2 separate regions of the Homo sapiens genome follow, and region 2 is linked to region 1. Evidence: promoter capture Hi-C in human tissues and cell types (Jung and others, 2019). All regions are on one chromosome and are shown on one strand. Each heading gives the region's core, a stretch centred on a gene start or on the middle of the fragment in contact. The rest is flanking DNA. Distances are from core to core; before and after follow the strand shown.

Region 1 (6,814 bases), core at 910-3,409:
CTGCATCCAGCCAGGACAAGTCTCTATCAGCATTTTATTTTATTTTATTTTATTTTATTTTTGAGACAGAGTCTCACTCTGGCGCCCAGGCTGGAGTGCAGTGGCGCAATCTCGGCTCACTGCAAGCTCCGCCTCCCCGGTTCACGCCATTCTCCTGCCTCAGGCTGCCACTACGCCCAGCTAATTGTTTGTATTTTTAGTAGAGACGGGGTTTCACCGCCTTAGCCAGGATGGTCTCGATTTCCTGACCTCATGATCCGCCCACCTCGGCCTCCCAAAGTGCTGGGATTACAGGCGTGAGCCACTGTGCCCGGCCTCTATCAGCATTTTCTTTCTTTTTCTTTTTCTTTTTTTTTTTTTGAGACAGAGTTTAGCTCTTGTTGCCCAGGCTGAAGGGCAATGGTGTGATCTCGGCTCACTGCAACTTCTGCCTCCCAAGTTCAAGCGATTCTCCTGCCTCAGCCTCCTGAATAGCTGGGATTACAGGTGCCCACCACCATGCCCAGCTAATTTTTGCATTTTTAGTAGAGACAGGGTTTCACCATGTTGGCCAGTCTGGTCTTGAACTCCTGACCTCAGGTGATCCGCCCGCCTCCACCTCCCAAAGTGCTGGGATTACAGGTGTGAAAGAGACCATTCCCGATCTCTTTCAGCATTTTCATACTGAATGTCCACAGCTGCCCTGTGAGGAGGCTTTTTACCCATATTTTCTGACTCAGAGAGAAGCAGCCACATGTCCCTTGGCCATGGCAGTTAAGACCAACTCCATGGAGCTGGGTGTCTTAGCTCACATCTGTAATCCCAGCACTTTGGAAAGCCAAGGCAGGATGATTGCTTGAGGCCAGAAGTTCAAGACCAGCCTGGGCAACATAGCCAGACCCCATCTCTACAAAAATTTAAAAATTAGCCACAAAATTTAAAAATTAACAACAAAAGGGCCGGGTGCGGTGGCTCACGCCTGTAATCCCAGCGCTTTGGGAGGGTGGATCACGAGGTCAGGAGTTCGAGACCAGCCTGGCCAAGATGGTGAAATCCCATCTCTACTAAAAATACAAAAATTAGCCGGGCGTGGTGGCGGGCGCCTGTTGTCCCAGCTACCCAGGAGGCTGAGGCAGGAGAATCGCTTGAATCCGGGAGTCTGAGGTTGCAGTGAGCCGAGATCGCAGCATTGCACTCCAGCCTGGGCGACAAGAGCGAAACTCCATCTTAAAAAAAAAAAAAAAAAAAAGTGGAAGATGAGGAAGTTGATCAGACATCAAGGATGAGCGGATGACTTAATAGGCTTCTTTGCTAAGACTTGGCTGGGCAGGTGAAAGACAAAGTCGAGGAGTGGTTATGGTGTGGCACAGAAGAAGGGTCAGAGGACGGTCTTTGTTACCTCTTCATGCCTGAGTTTCTTCCTCTGTGAAATGGGGATAATAAGAGCCGCCATACAGGGAATTGCTGCTAGGATCAAATGAGATAATGTATGTGAAACGCTCTGGCTGTAGGCTTCTCAGCAAATGGGCACGACTTGCGGAGTGGGGATTTGAATTCACGTCTGGCGGGATGTCCAAGCTGCTACCCTGACCGCTAGGGAGCTTCAGAGGACAGGGCTGCAGGTGATCAGGAAGAGGACTGGGGCAGGTGGGCGAGGAATGCCTCCCAGGAGTGAAGGAGGGGGAATTCTAGTCAGCAGGATGGAGTCGGCCAGGTAGAAACGAGGGAAAGGAGACAGGACCGGATGGAACGGGGAAGCCAAAGGGCAGGGCGTCGGAGGGTTGAATGGTGGCCGGTGCAGCTTTGAACACCGAGGTGAGGACATGCAGCTGTGTCCTAGGGTCAGGACCGTACACGCCTGACCCAATTCCACAGCACGGAGGGGAACTCCAGGATCCGGCCGCGTTGCCCACACACTTCGCTCTCCCTCCCGCCTCTCGCAAGCCCCTCCCCCGTCTCCGTCCACCGAGTGCCAGCCAATAGCAGAAGCGACAGCGCATCTGGGTGCCGACTCAGCCAATCGCGGCTGAGTGACGAATGAGCCCCAGGACCAATGAGAGTGCCGCCACCATGGCAAAAAAAAAAAAATCCAATGGTGACGAGCAGGGAGAACAGAGCAGCTGCCAATGGGCGTGTGCGTTTCAGGCGGCCAATGGGAGGAGGCGTCTCGGCGGGGGACAAGCAGTAGCTACCCGCGGGAGCGGGGAGGGGTCCGGGTTCGAGCTTGTGTTCCCCCGGAAGGGTGAGTCTGGACGCGGGCGCGGAAGGAGCGCGGCCGGAGGTCCTCAGGAAGAAGCCGCGGGGACTGGCTGCGCTTGACAGGCTGCACTTGGATGGGAGCACCTGGTGCCTCGGGACTGCTCCGATGCCCGGTGGGTGCACATCCCAGTTCCCGCCGTTGCCGGCCGGGTTTAGAGGTTTTGGGGGGAGGACATGGGGGCGTGCAGCCTTCCCAGTTGCAAACTTCACTCCGACCCTGTCTTCAAAGCTGGGTCTGGGTCCAGTGGGGACGAGAAAGGAGGAAGGAGGAAGTAGGCTCCGCGAAAGCCCCATCCCCGGGATCTCATCTATAACATGAATAGGTATTAATGGCAAAGGCTAATTAAGCGCTTACTGTATACCAGGCACTTTCTCTGCCTCCTCGCGTTAAATCCTCCCAGCAGCCTTTTGAGGTAGACACTGTTACATGCCCATTTTCCAGATGAGGAAACCAGCAACATGGGTGGAAGTGACAGCCCCTCCACTTCCATACTGGCGCCCTCAGGAGGCTCAGGCCCTGGATTGGGGGGATGGAGCTGGACATAAACTCTCCTAGGCTTTGGGGAGTCAACAGGGACTGAGGTCACTCATGGGGGTAAATGTGGGAGAGGAGAATTGTGGCCTGAAAGAGGCCATCACCACGATGAAACTAATAACAATTATGTTATTCTTGTTTTGGTCATATTTGTTCTTTTTGTGTGTGCCTGAATCAGGGTCTGTGCTGAATGTGTAATATGCGGAACTATATTGAAACATTACAACCATCTTTTGATGGCAACACCCTGAGGACCTCCCTTTTCCAGATGGGGAAACTGAGGCCCAGAATTGCTAAGTGGCTTGCTTGAGTTGACACAGGGAGCTCCAGGACTCACCCTCAGGTATGTTTGACCACATCTGCCTGTCTGGTTATTTTGGGGAGGTGTGTTAAGAGCAGATTTTTATTTTACTTTTTATTTATTTATTTATTTATTTATTTATTTATTTATTGTATTTTAGTAGAGATGGGGTTTCACCATGTTGGTCAAGATGGTCTCAATCTCCAGACCTCGTGATCTGTCCGCCTTGGCCTCCCAAAGTGCTGGGATTACAGTCATGAGCCACCGCGCCTGGCCCTTTTTATATATTTTTATTACTTATTTATTTATTTATTTATTTATATTTTTAGAGTCAGGGTCTCACTCTGTCACCCAGGCTGGAATGCAGTGGTGCGATCACTGCTCACTGCAGCCTCCAACTCCTGGGCTCAGGAGATCCTCCCACTTCAGCCTCCCGAGTAGCTTGGAGTACAGATGTGCACCCCCACGCCTGGCTAAATTTTAAAAATTTCTTGTAGAGGCCGGGCACAGTGGCTCACGCCTGTAATCCCAGCACTTTGGGAGGCCGAGGCGGGTGGATCACCTGAGGTCAGAGGTTCAAGACCAGCCTGGCCAACATGGCAAAACCCTGTCTCTACTAAAAATACAAAAATTAGCCCGGTGTGGTGGCAGGCGCCAGCTACTCAGGAGGCTGAGGCAGGAGAATCACTTAAACCCAGGAGGCAGAGGTTGTGGTGAGCAAGATTGTACCATTGCACTCCAGCCTGGGCAACAAGAGTGAAACTCTGTCTCAAAAATAAGATAAGATAAGATAAGATAAGATAAGATAAGATAAGATAAGATATAAAATAAAACGTCTTGTAGAAACAGGGTCTTGCTATATGGCCTAGGCTGGTCTCGAGCTCCTGGGCTCAAGCAATCCTCTTGCCTCAACATCCCAAAGTCCTGGGATTAGAGGCGTGAGCCACTGTACCTGGCCAGAGCAGATTTTTATATCTGTGTCAATTTGTGGAAAGAGAGGAGGGTTCAGTGTTATTGTTGATGAGAGATCTAGGTGGGGATGCATACCCCAACCCTGTCCAATAAATGTGGAAAACGAGACTCAGAGAGGGAATCGGGTCTCTAATGTCATGCCAAGATGGGAGCCCAGAATCTTCCCCTCAGGCCTTAGCTGGGGTGGGTGGAAGGTTGAAGAGCTAACAGGGGTCTCTGGGCTGAGACTTGGGAGCTGACAGATTGTCCCCTTTCCAGCTGAGCCACCTGCCGGGAGCATGCCTCTGCGCCACTGGGGGATGGCCAGGGGCAGTAAGCCCGTTGGGGATGGAGCCCAGCCCATGGCTGCCATGGGAGGCCTGAAGGTGCTTCTGCACTGGGCTGGTCCAGGCGGCGGGGAGCCCTGGGTCACTTTCAGTGAGTCATCGCTGACAGCTGAGGAAGTCTGCATCCACATTGCACATAAAGTTGGTGAGTCTGGGGCGTTGGCACCATGGGGACTGGGGTGGGTGTGCAAGCAGCAGCTGGGCCCCATCCATCCGTCTATCCACCCACCCACCCATCCACCCACCCATCCACCCACTCATCCATCCATCCATCCATCCACCCATCCACCCACCCATCCACCCTCCCAACCACCCATCCATCCACCCACCCACCCATCCATCCACCCATGCATCCATCCATCCTCCCATCCACCCATCCACCCACCCATTCACCCACCCATTCACCCATCCACCCACCCTTTCACCCATCCACCCATCCACCCATTCATCCACCCACCCACCCACCCATCCATCCACCCACGCATCCATCCACCCACCCACCCACCCATCCATCCACCCACGCATCCATCCATACATCCACCCACCCACTCATCCATCCACCCACCTATCCACCTATCCATCCACCTACTCACCCACCCATCCACCCACCTATCCACCCACCCACCCATCCACCCATCCATCCACCCACCCATTCATCCATCTATCCATCCATCCACCCATCGATCCATCCATACCCACCCATTCATCCATCCACCCATCCATCCACCCACCCATCCACCCATCCATCCACCCATCCATCCATTCATCCATCCATCCATCCACCCACCCACCCATCCATCCACCCACCCACCCATCCATCCATCCATCCATCCACCCACCCACTCACCCACTCACCCACCTATCCATGCATCCATCCATCCACCCACCCATCCATCCTCCCACCCATTCATCCATCTATCCATCCATCCATCCATCCATCCATCCATCCATCCATCCACCCACCCACCCACCTATTCATCCATCTATCCATCCATCCATCCATCCATCCATCCATCCATCCATCCATCCATCCACCCGTTCATTCGGTGAACATTTTGTAAGCATCTACTGTGTGGCAGCTGCAAATCACTGCCTTTGTAGAGCTGAAATTTTAGTAGGGAGGACAGCAAGAAATATAATAAATCAGAAAACTTGGCCAGGTGCAGTAGCTGACACTTGTAATCCCAGTACTTGAGGAGGCCCAGGCAGGAGGATTGCTTGAGGCCAGTAGTTGGAGACCAGCCTGGGCAACATAGGGAGACCTTGTCTCAACAAAATAATTTTTAGAAATTAGCCAGGCATGGTGGTACATGCCTGTAGTCCCAGCAACTTGAGAGCCTGAGGCAAGAGGATCGCTTGAGCCCAGGAGTTCAAGCCTGCAATGAGGTATGGTTTCGTCACTGCACTCCAGCCTGGGTGACAGAGTGAGACCCAGTGTCATTAAAAAAAGAAAGTCAGGCCGGGCGCGGTGGCTCATGCCTGTAATCCCAGCACTTTGGGAGGCTGAGGCTGGTGGATCACTTGAGGTCAGAAGTTTGAGAGCAGCCTGGCCAACATGGCAAAACTCCAGCTCTACTAAAAATACAAAAACTAGCCGGGCGTGGGGTGCGCACCTGTAATTCCAGCTACTCAGGAGGCTGAGGCAGGAGAATAGCTTGAACCTGGGACATGGAGGTTGCAGTGAGCCGAGATCACAGCACTGCACTCCAGGCTGGGTGACAGAGCTAGACTCCGTTTCAAAAATAAAAAAAGGCCAGGTGCGGTGGCTCATGCCTGTAATCCCAACACTTTCAGAGGCTGAGGCGGGCAGATCACCTGAGATCAGGAGTTCAAGACCAGCCTGGCCAATGTAGTGAAACCGCATCTCTACTAAAAATACAAAATGTAGCCAGGCATGGTGGCAGGTGCCTGCAATCCCAGCTACTCAGAAGGCTGAGGCAGGAGAATAGCTTGAACCTGGGACATGGAGGTTGCAGTGAGCCGAGATCACAGCACTGCACTCCAGGCTGGGTGACAGAGCTAGACTCCGTTTCAAAAATAAAAAAAGGCCAGGTGCGGTGGCTCATGCCTGTAATCCCAACACTTTCAGAGGCTGAGGCGGGCAGATCACCTGAGATCAGGAGTTCAAGACCAGCCTGGCCAATGTAGTGAAACCGCATCTCTACTAAAAATACAAAATGTAGCCAGGCATGGTGGCAGGTGCCTGCAATCCTAGCTACTCAGGAGGCTGAGGCAGGAGAATTGCTTGAACTTGGGAGGTGGAGGCTGCAGTGAGCTGAGATCGTGCCATTGTACTCCAGCCTGGGCAACAAGAGCGAAACTCCATCTCAAAGAAAAAAAAAAAAAAAAAAGAAAGAAAGGCTTTCCCTCCTCCTGCACAGGAAATTGCACTTCCAAATATATCTACTACAGTCTTTCTTTTTTTCTTTTTTTTGAGATGGA
Region 2 (7,187 bases), core at 712-3,211, 270 kb before region 1:
ACGTGGTATTTAACATGAAAATTTAGGAAAAAATAACAGACTTAGATTCCTCATGCTCAGGAATATGGGCCTTCAAGACCCTGAAAATACTAGAAGGAGCCAAAGGAATTTTTGCCTAGAGGCACCAAACAAGTTCAATCAGAAAAACCACAAACAATTAGGCACCTCTCAGCTCCAGGAAGACTCGGCTAAGCTCCAGGAAGATAGGGAGAGTGATAAATAGCGCCCAGTGGCGGCAAGGCCAAGCCTGGCAGTCATTGCTAGCCTCCAATCTGAACTAAAGAATATTCCAGACAACACTGGGGCCTGCAGACTCCATTCACAAATCCCAGGGACCAAGAGCCACCCACATAAGCAAGGGGCCCCAGCACCACGGAACAGGGAGAGGAGCACCTGCCAATGTCCTGCGGCCTCCTCCTGCTTTCCAGCTGTGAATGAGGCCCTGGTTCCCACACTTCATTCACAGTCTGGGCGGCTACTGTAACTACATCCCACGAGACCACACACAAAGCATCACGCACAAGGGACAGTGGCAGCACTCTGAGCAATCCATGGAGATTCCCATCCACAAATACCTGAGGAAAAGAGAGCTTAAAGTCCTAAATTTGAATCCTAACTTCGGATGGCACCTCGCGATTCCATGTGGACCACAAATATGCCATCACACCACTCATTTTAAAGAGAGCAAAATCTTGAAAAAGATTCAGCAGCAGTGAATTACCGGAGTCCAGAAAAAGAAACCACTGAAACCGACGCTTCGTTGCTGATCCATGTCACCTAAGCAGCAACTGGCAAACAATGTTGGAAATGTGGAGAAGAGATCCCTCATTCTCCTCAAATTTGGCCACTGAACTGGGGGAGGAGCATGCAGACCGCCGTACACCCCAAATAATTCATCCAGGCGGTGAATTAACTGGGGCAGAACCTCATGAGTAACCTCGAGAATCTCAATCGTTCAACTACTTGAGAAAATAAAGGTAGAAATGGGTTTTAAGCATCCACGTTTCGGGGCCCAGGCTTGCACCCAAGTAGATTGCCGGTCTAGAGAAGGCAAATACTAACAATCTGGAAAAACATTCAACAATGAAAACAAACTAACTAAAGAAAAAGCTGAAACCCTCTCAAGTTTTGACCCTGATCTGAGAGAGGCCTGGCTGACCAGAGATTTGGAAACCCGACGAACCCACAAAGGCTTCCTCAGCAATCCGCGTGGGAAGGGGCTTCCAAGGAGGGGGTCCGCCTCTCCGCGACCTGTGAGGACAAAGGAGGCGACTTTTCCCGCCTCGGGAACCTGGGACTCTCCTGGAATCGGGGGCGGGACCGGGACAAAGAGGAGGAGGGGGTAGGGAAGGAGTGAGGAAGGGGGGTCGCCCCGCCGCGGAACTCGGGACCCGAGGGGGTGTGTGCTCCAAGCACGTGCGCGCGTCCCCAGGACCCCCGCAACAGACAAAAGCCCAGCCGCGGGGAGGCGGCAGCCGGGGGCCCGGTGCGCGCGCACCCCCCCGCGCGTGGCGCCGCCGCCGGCCGAGGGGCCGCGTGCGGGGGGGAGCGGCTGCGCGCGCACCGAGTCCTCGCCGCCGCCGCAGCCGCCATTTTGTTTCCTCCGCACAATGGAAGAGAGTTAACGGCCGAGCGCGGGAGCGAGGCCGGCAAGGGAGGAACGGGCCAGGCGCCGGGATGAGGGAACCGGGCGGAGGCGGCGAGCGTGGGATCCCTCCAGCCTTGTCACCGCGAACCCTCAGTGGGGATCTCACTGAGGGCGGGCGGGGGGAGGGGCAGAGGCGGGAGCGGGCCCGGCCGCCGCCACATTGACGCTTACCTTGTCGGCGTCCCCTTCTTCGACCGCAGCCGCCGCCGCCGCCCTCCTGCCACAGCCCGCCGGGGTCTGCCCCCAAAAGCCACGCGGTGCGCGCCGGGCTGCTGGGTCCAACTGCAATGGCGAGAAGAGGAGGAGGAGGAGTCCGGACCGGGGGCGAGCGGGCGGGCGGGCAGGCGCGCGCCGGGGAGGTGCGGGAACACGTGACCGGCTGAAGCCCCGCCCCCTTTGACGCCGCGTTGCGCCTCGACGCAGGCCCAACCCAAATGGGAGGGAGGGGCGAAAAGAGATAAGGGGGGGGCTGAGGGGGTGGGCGTGAGTTGCACGTGGTGCAAGCGGGAGTGTTTGCGTGCGTAGTCACGTGACTTCGGCACCTTTCCCTCCGCTTTCGATAGGTTGCTCCATCATGTGACAATGGCGAATTTCGCGGTTTCCTTCGCCATCTGACAACTTTTGGCGCCTTCCCTTTGCCGTACTGGGAGTCCTCCATCACGTGACGAGGGCACGCTCTGGTTTTCGCTAAGGCGTTTTTTGAGCGGCCATTACCACGTGATGCAAGGCAAGCGTCAGAGGCGGAGCCTCCCTACGGCTGCGACATTTTGCGCCTGCGCGGCCGCCATCTTACGCCCGTCGCCCTGAGTACGTTAGCGGAAATGGCTCCGAGAGGCTTTGACGCATGTGTACCTTTTTAGTGGCGGTATCTCGGCCGGGGATTTTCGGGCTCCAGTGGAGGTGGCTATGCTCACCCCATCTCCCTTGAGAGGCACAGAAGGTTAGAGATGTGTGCGAGGAACGGCCAGGTCCAGCGTCTCCTCGTTGCTGCCCCTTGAGCCCGGGACCGGCGCCAATGCGCGCCCGGGTTCTTGGGTTCTTTCGTCCCGCAGACCTGCCTTGGTGTGGCGTCCCTGGGCCGTAGCTTCCGAAGGCTGCAGCCGACCTGGTCGGGGTCCTCTAGCCCGCCTTCCCCTTCCCCCATTGACAGATGGAGAAACTGAGGCCCAGGCCAAAAAATATCTCACTAGAGGGCTCACCGCCATTTCCTGGAAAAATTGGGGCTGGGACTCAACGGACGCTCGTCCAGCAGCAGCGCGGAGCTCCGAAGTAAAGGCGCCCGTGACCGAGTGCTTTGTCCTTACAAGCGTGGTGTTCTTGAATGCTTCCAGGCGCCTTATGAGGCCCCCGATGTACAATCTGTGCTTAACTAAACCCCACTGTCTTCCAGGGTCAGGTTGGCCATCCGCAGGCGTAGTTGCTAGGAAGGTTTGACAGATGTCCGCCTGTTGATTCAGACGTTCCCAGGATTTGGAGCAAGAAGAGCAAGGAAGGCCAGGCGCGGTGGCTCACGTTTGTAATCCCAGCACTTTGGGAGGCCGAGGCGGGCGGATCACGAGGTCAGGAGTTCGAGACCAGCCTGGCCAGCATGGTGAAACCCCGTCTCTACTAAAAATACAAAAGAAAATTAGCCGGGTGTGGTGGCACATGCCTGTAGTCCCACCTACTTGGGAGGCTGAGGCAGGAGAATTGTTTGACCTGGCAGGCGGAGGTTGCAGTGAGCCGAGATTGCGCCACTGCACTCCAGTCTGGGCGACAGAGCGAGACTCTGTCTCAGAAAAAAAAAAGAGCAAGGAGGTGTTGAAAATGGGTTTCCTGGCTGGGCGTGGTGGCTCACGCTTGTAATCCCAGCACTTTGGGAAGCTGAGGTGGGCGGATCACTTGAGGTCAGGAGTTTGAGACCAGCCTGGCCAACATGGTGAAACACCGTCTCCACTAAAAATAGAAAAATTAACTGGGTGTGGTGGAGGGCGCCTGTAATCCCAGCTAATCAGGAAGCTGAGACAGGAGGATCGCTTGAACCCAGGAGGCGGAGGTTGCAGTGAGCCGAGATTGCTCCATTGCACTCCAGCCTGGGCGATAGAGTGAGACTCAGCCTCAAAAAAAAAAAAAAAAAAAAATTCGCCAGGTGTGGTGGTGTGCGCCTATAATCCCAGCTACTCAGGAGGCAGAGGCACAAGAATGGCTTGAATCACTTGAACCTGGGAGGCAGAGGTTACAATGAGCCGAGATGGCACCACTGCACTCCAGCCTGGGCGACAGAGCGAGACTCCGACTTCCCATCTTAAAAAAAAAAAAAAAAAAAAAAAAGAAGTGTAAAGATGTGATTATGTGGCAGGGGGTAAGGGTTAAAAAGAAAACAAGAACAAGTTTTCCTCTGCTTAGCCAGCTTACTTCAAGGACAGTTATAACACTGAAAAGTCGAGGCCAAAGGAATGGGCTCCAGACAGCCTCCTCCGGAGCAAAGTTGAAAAGAAAAATTCCTTTACTGTCTCTCCTTTTCTGAACCATTAAATATGACTGTTTGCCAATGGTTGTATTTAGTAAGATTTGTAGACTCTGTTTTTCTTTTGACACAGCTGCAAGGCCAACAGCTGTGCAAAGCCACAAGTTATGCTAAGTCAGCAGTTATGCTATAGATTACATGACCTGTGACTGTATCATTAACTGCTTTTGTTTTGCTTCTGTAAGTTTGCCTATAAAAACCACACTCAGTCTTTGTTCAATGGTCAGCTTTTCAGATACAAATCCACTGAGCCGGTGTACATCTAAATAAATCCTCCTGTTTCCCGTGTCAGTCTCTCTGGTCCTTTGTTTCCTGCAACAATTACAGAAATGAGTGCCTAGCCGGGCATGGTGGCTCACGCCTGTAATCCCCACACTTTGGGAGGCCGAGGCTGGAGGATCCCTTAAGCCCAGGAGTTTGAGGCCAGCTTGAGCAACATGGCAAAACCCAGTCTCTACAAAAATTAGCTGAGCGTGATGGCCTGTGTCCATAGTTCCATCTACTTGGGAGGAGTAGGTGGGAGGATCACTTGAGCTGTGGAGGTCCAGGCTGCAGTGAGCCGTGATGGAGTCACTGCACTTTTCAGCCTGGATGGCACAGCTAGACCGTCTCAAAAAAGAAATGAGTGCATGCTGTACCCTCTGCTTTTCTATTTTATTTACATTTTACTGTGGATTTTTAATAGGTAGCATAGTCACATGATACGTCAAATGTGCCAAAGACGCCGGGCGCGGTGGCTCACGCCTGTAATTCCAGCACTTTGGGAGGCTGAAGTGGGCGGATCACGAGGTCAGGAGATCAAGACCATCCTGGCTAACACAGTGAAACCCCGTCTCTACTAAAAATACAAAAAAAAATTAGCCGGGCGTGGTGGTGGGCATCTGTAGTCTCAGCGACTCGGGAGGCTGAGGCAGGAGGATGGCATGAACTCGGGAGGCAGAGGTTGCAGTGAGCTGAGATCGTGCCATTGCACTCCAGTCTGGGCGACAGAGTGAGACTCCATCTCAAAAAAAAAAAAAAGTGCCAAAGACATGAGAGCACAAAGTCTTCCTCAGACATCCAGTTCCCTCCCTCTTAGAAGCCATTGTACAGTTTTGTTTTTTGTTTTTTGTTTTTGAAACGGAGTCTTGCTCTGTCTCCCAGGCTGGAGTGCAGTGGCACGATCTTGGCTCACTGCAAGCTCCGCCTCCTGGGTTCACGCCATTCTCCTGCCTCAGCCTCCCGAGTAGCTGAGACTACAGGCGCCCACCACCACGCCCGGCTAATGTTTTGTATTTTTAGTAGAGACTGGGTTTCACCGGGTGAGTCAGGATGGTCTCGATCTCCTGACCTCGTGATCCACCCGCCTCGGCCTCCCAAAGTGCTAGGATTATATGCGTGAGCCACCGCGACCAGCCATTGTACAGTTTTTTGTGTAACTACAGTAGAGTTTTATTTTCAGAGGTGCATAATCATATTCTTGTTTTTCACATAAATTGATAAGTTATTCTGCACCAGGCTTTTTAATTTCATTTCCTGTGCCTCAGATCTGTCTCACAAATAGAGCTGGAAATTGAAGAAAGGTTTGGTAAGATGATTGGGGCATGCACTAAGATAAAATTGGTTAAAATGCCAGGGCATGGTGGAACACACCTGTAGTCCCAGCTACTCAGGAGGCTGAGGTGGGAGGATCATTTGAGCCCAGGAGGTTGAGGCTGCAGTGAACTGAGATTGGGCCACTGCTCTCTAGCCTAGGCAACAGAAGCCCTGTCTCAAAAAAACAAAAACAAAACCAAAAAATTGGTTAAAGCTTTAAATTGTTGAAGGTCACTGTGATAATAACGAATGTTAATAACAAAGCCTAGACTGGCTTTTTTTCGGAACAGGTCAGTTTTAGTGACTTGCTTGAGCTAACAGCACTGCCAAATGGCAGAACGAGGATGGTTACTAGTTTTCTGACTCCCAACTCCAGAGAGCCTAAGGTTACTTAAAACGCTTTTGAAGATCTCATTCCGCTAAGGCGTTTCTTGCCCCAGGGACCCCAAACACAGTAAAGGGCGGATAGGGTCATGATGACAAGCACAGTCTTTGGATCAAACCCAAACCTCCTAGGGTTTGATTTGGAGGAGGACTGATTCGGAGTTAATTCAACATCAAGGGGTTGCTTCAGTACCTGGCATGGAGTTAAAGCTTCAAAAACAGTAATGGTTATGATTGTTACCTCTTGAACGGGTGCCCCATCCAACCAGAACTTCCTGAAAAATGTTGTCTTGGCCAGGCATGCTGGCTCATGCCTGTAATCCTACACTTTGGGAGGCTGAGGCAGGGGGATTGCTTGAGCCCAGAAGTTCAAGACCAGTCTGGGCAACATAGTGAGACCCCATCTCTATGTTTTTTATCTATCTATCTATTTATTTATTTTTGAGATGGAGTCTCGTTCTGTAGTCCCAGCTAGGGTGCAGTGATAACAATCTCAGCTTACTGCAACCTCCAATTCCCGAGTTTAAGCAATTCTGCCTTAGCCTCCCAAGTCACTGGGATTGCAGGCGTACACCACCATGGTCAGCTAATTGTTGTATTTTTAGTAGAGACTGGGTTTTGCCATGTTGGCCAGGCTGGTCTCAAACTCCTGACCTCAAGTTATCCACCCACCTTGGCTTCCCAAAGTGCTGGGATTACAGGCATGAGCTACTGCACCCAGCCCCATCTCTACATTAAAAAAAAAAAAAGTTTTCAAGAATAAAAACAAAAAGAAGGCTGGGGGCAGTGGCTCATACTTGTAATCCTAGCACATTGGGAGGCCGAGATTGGTGGATCACTTGAGGTCAGGAGTTCAAGACCACCCTGGCCAACATGGTGAAACTCTGTCTTTACTAAAAGTACAAAAAGTAGCTGGGCATGATGGCTGGCATCTGTAATTCCAGCTACTCGGGAGGCTGAGGCACGAGAATCGCTTGAACCTGGGAGGTGGAGGTTGCAGTGAGCCGAGATCAAGCCACTACAGTCCAGCCTGGGTGACAGGGAGACTGTGTCTAAAAAAAAAAAGAAAGGGCC

The links. The method cuts DNA at HindIII sites, captures the fragments that hold promoters and counts their contacts. A contact is called where the count stands out against the background at its distance.
Region 2: the fragment with the promoter of ILF3 here is called in contact with the fragment with the promoter of TYK2 in region 1 in 1 of the 25 tissues and cell types used here (lymphoblastoid cells).

The regions. Positions count from the first base shown.
Region 1 is chr19:10,375,917-10,382,730 of GRCh38, reverse strand. It overlaps TYK2 (tyrosine kinase 2), which reads left to right and starts at 2,159. Exons shown (of 25, transcript NM_003331.5): 1 at 2,159-2,351; 2 at 2,952-3,116; 3 at 4,305-4,517. The coding sequence starts at 4,325. RefSeq lists enhancers at 1,530-2,193, 2,102-2,261. The HindIII fragment of the contact is 20,387 bases long and covers 1-6,814 here.
Region 2 is chr19:10,649,120-10,656,306 of GRCh38, reverse strand. It overlaps ILF3 (interleukin enhancer binding factor 3), which reads right to left and starts at 1,961. Exons shown (of 20, transcript NM_017620.3): 1 at 1,820-1,961. It overlaps ILF3-DT (ILF3 divergent transcript), which reads left to right and starts at 2,435. Exons shown (of 1, transcript NR_024333.1): 1 at 2,435-4,445. RefSeq lists silencers at 1,634-1,793, 1,874-2,113 and enhancers at 2,204-2,673, 2,914-3,083, 2,949-3,450, 3,451-3,953. The HindIII fragment of the contact is 14,146 bases long and covers 1-6,133 here.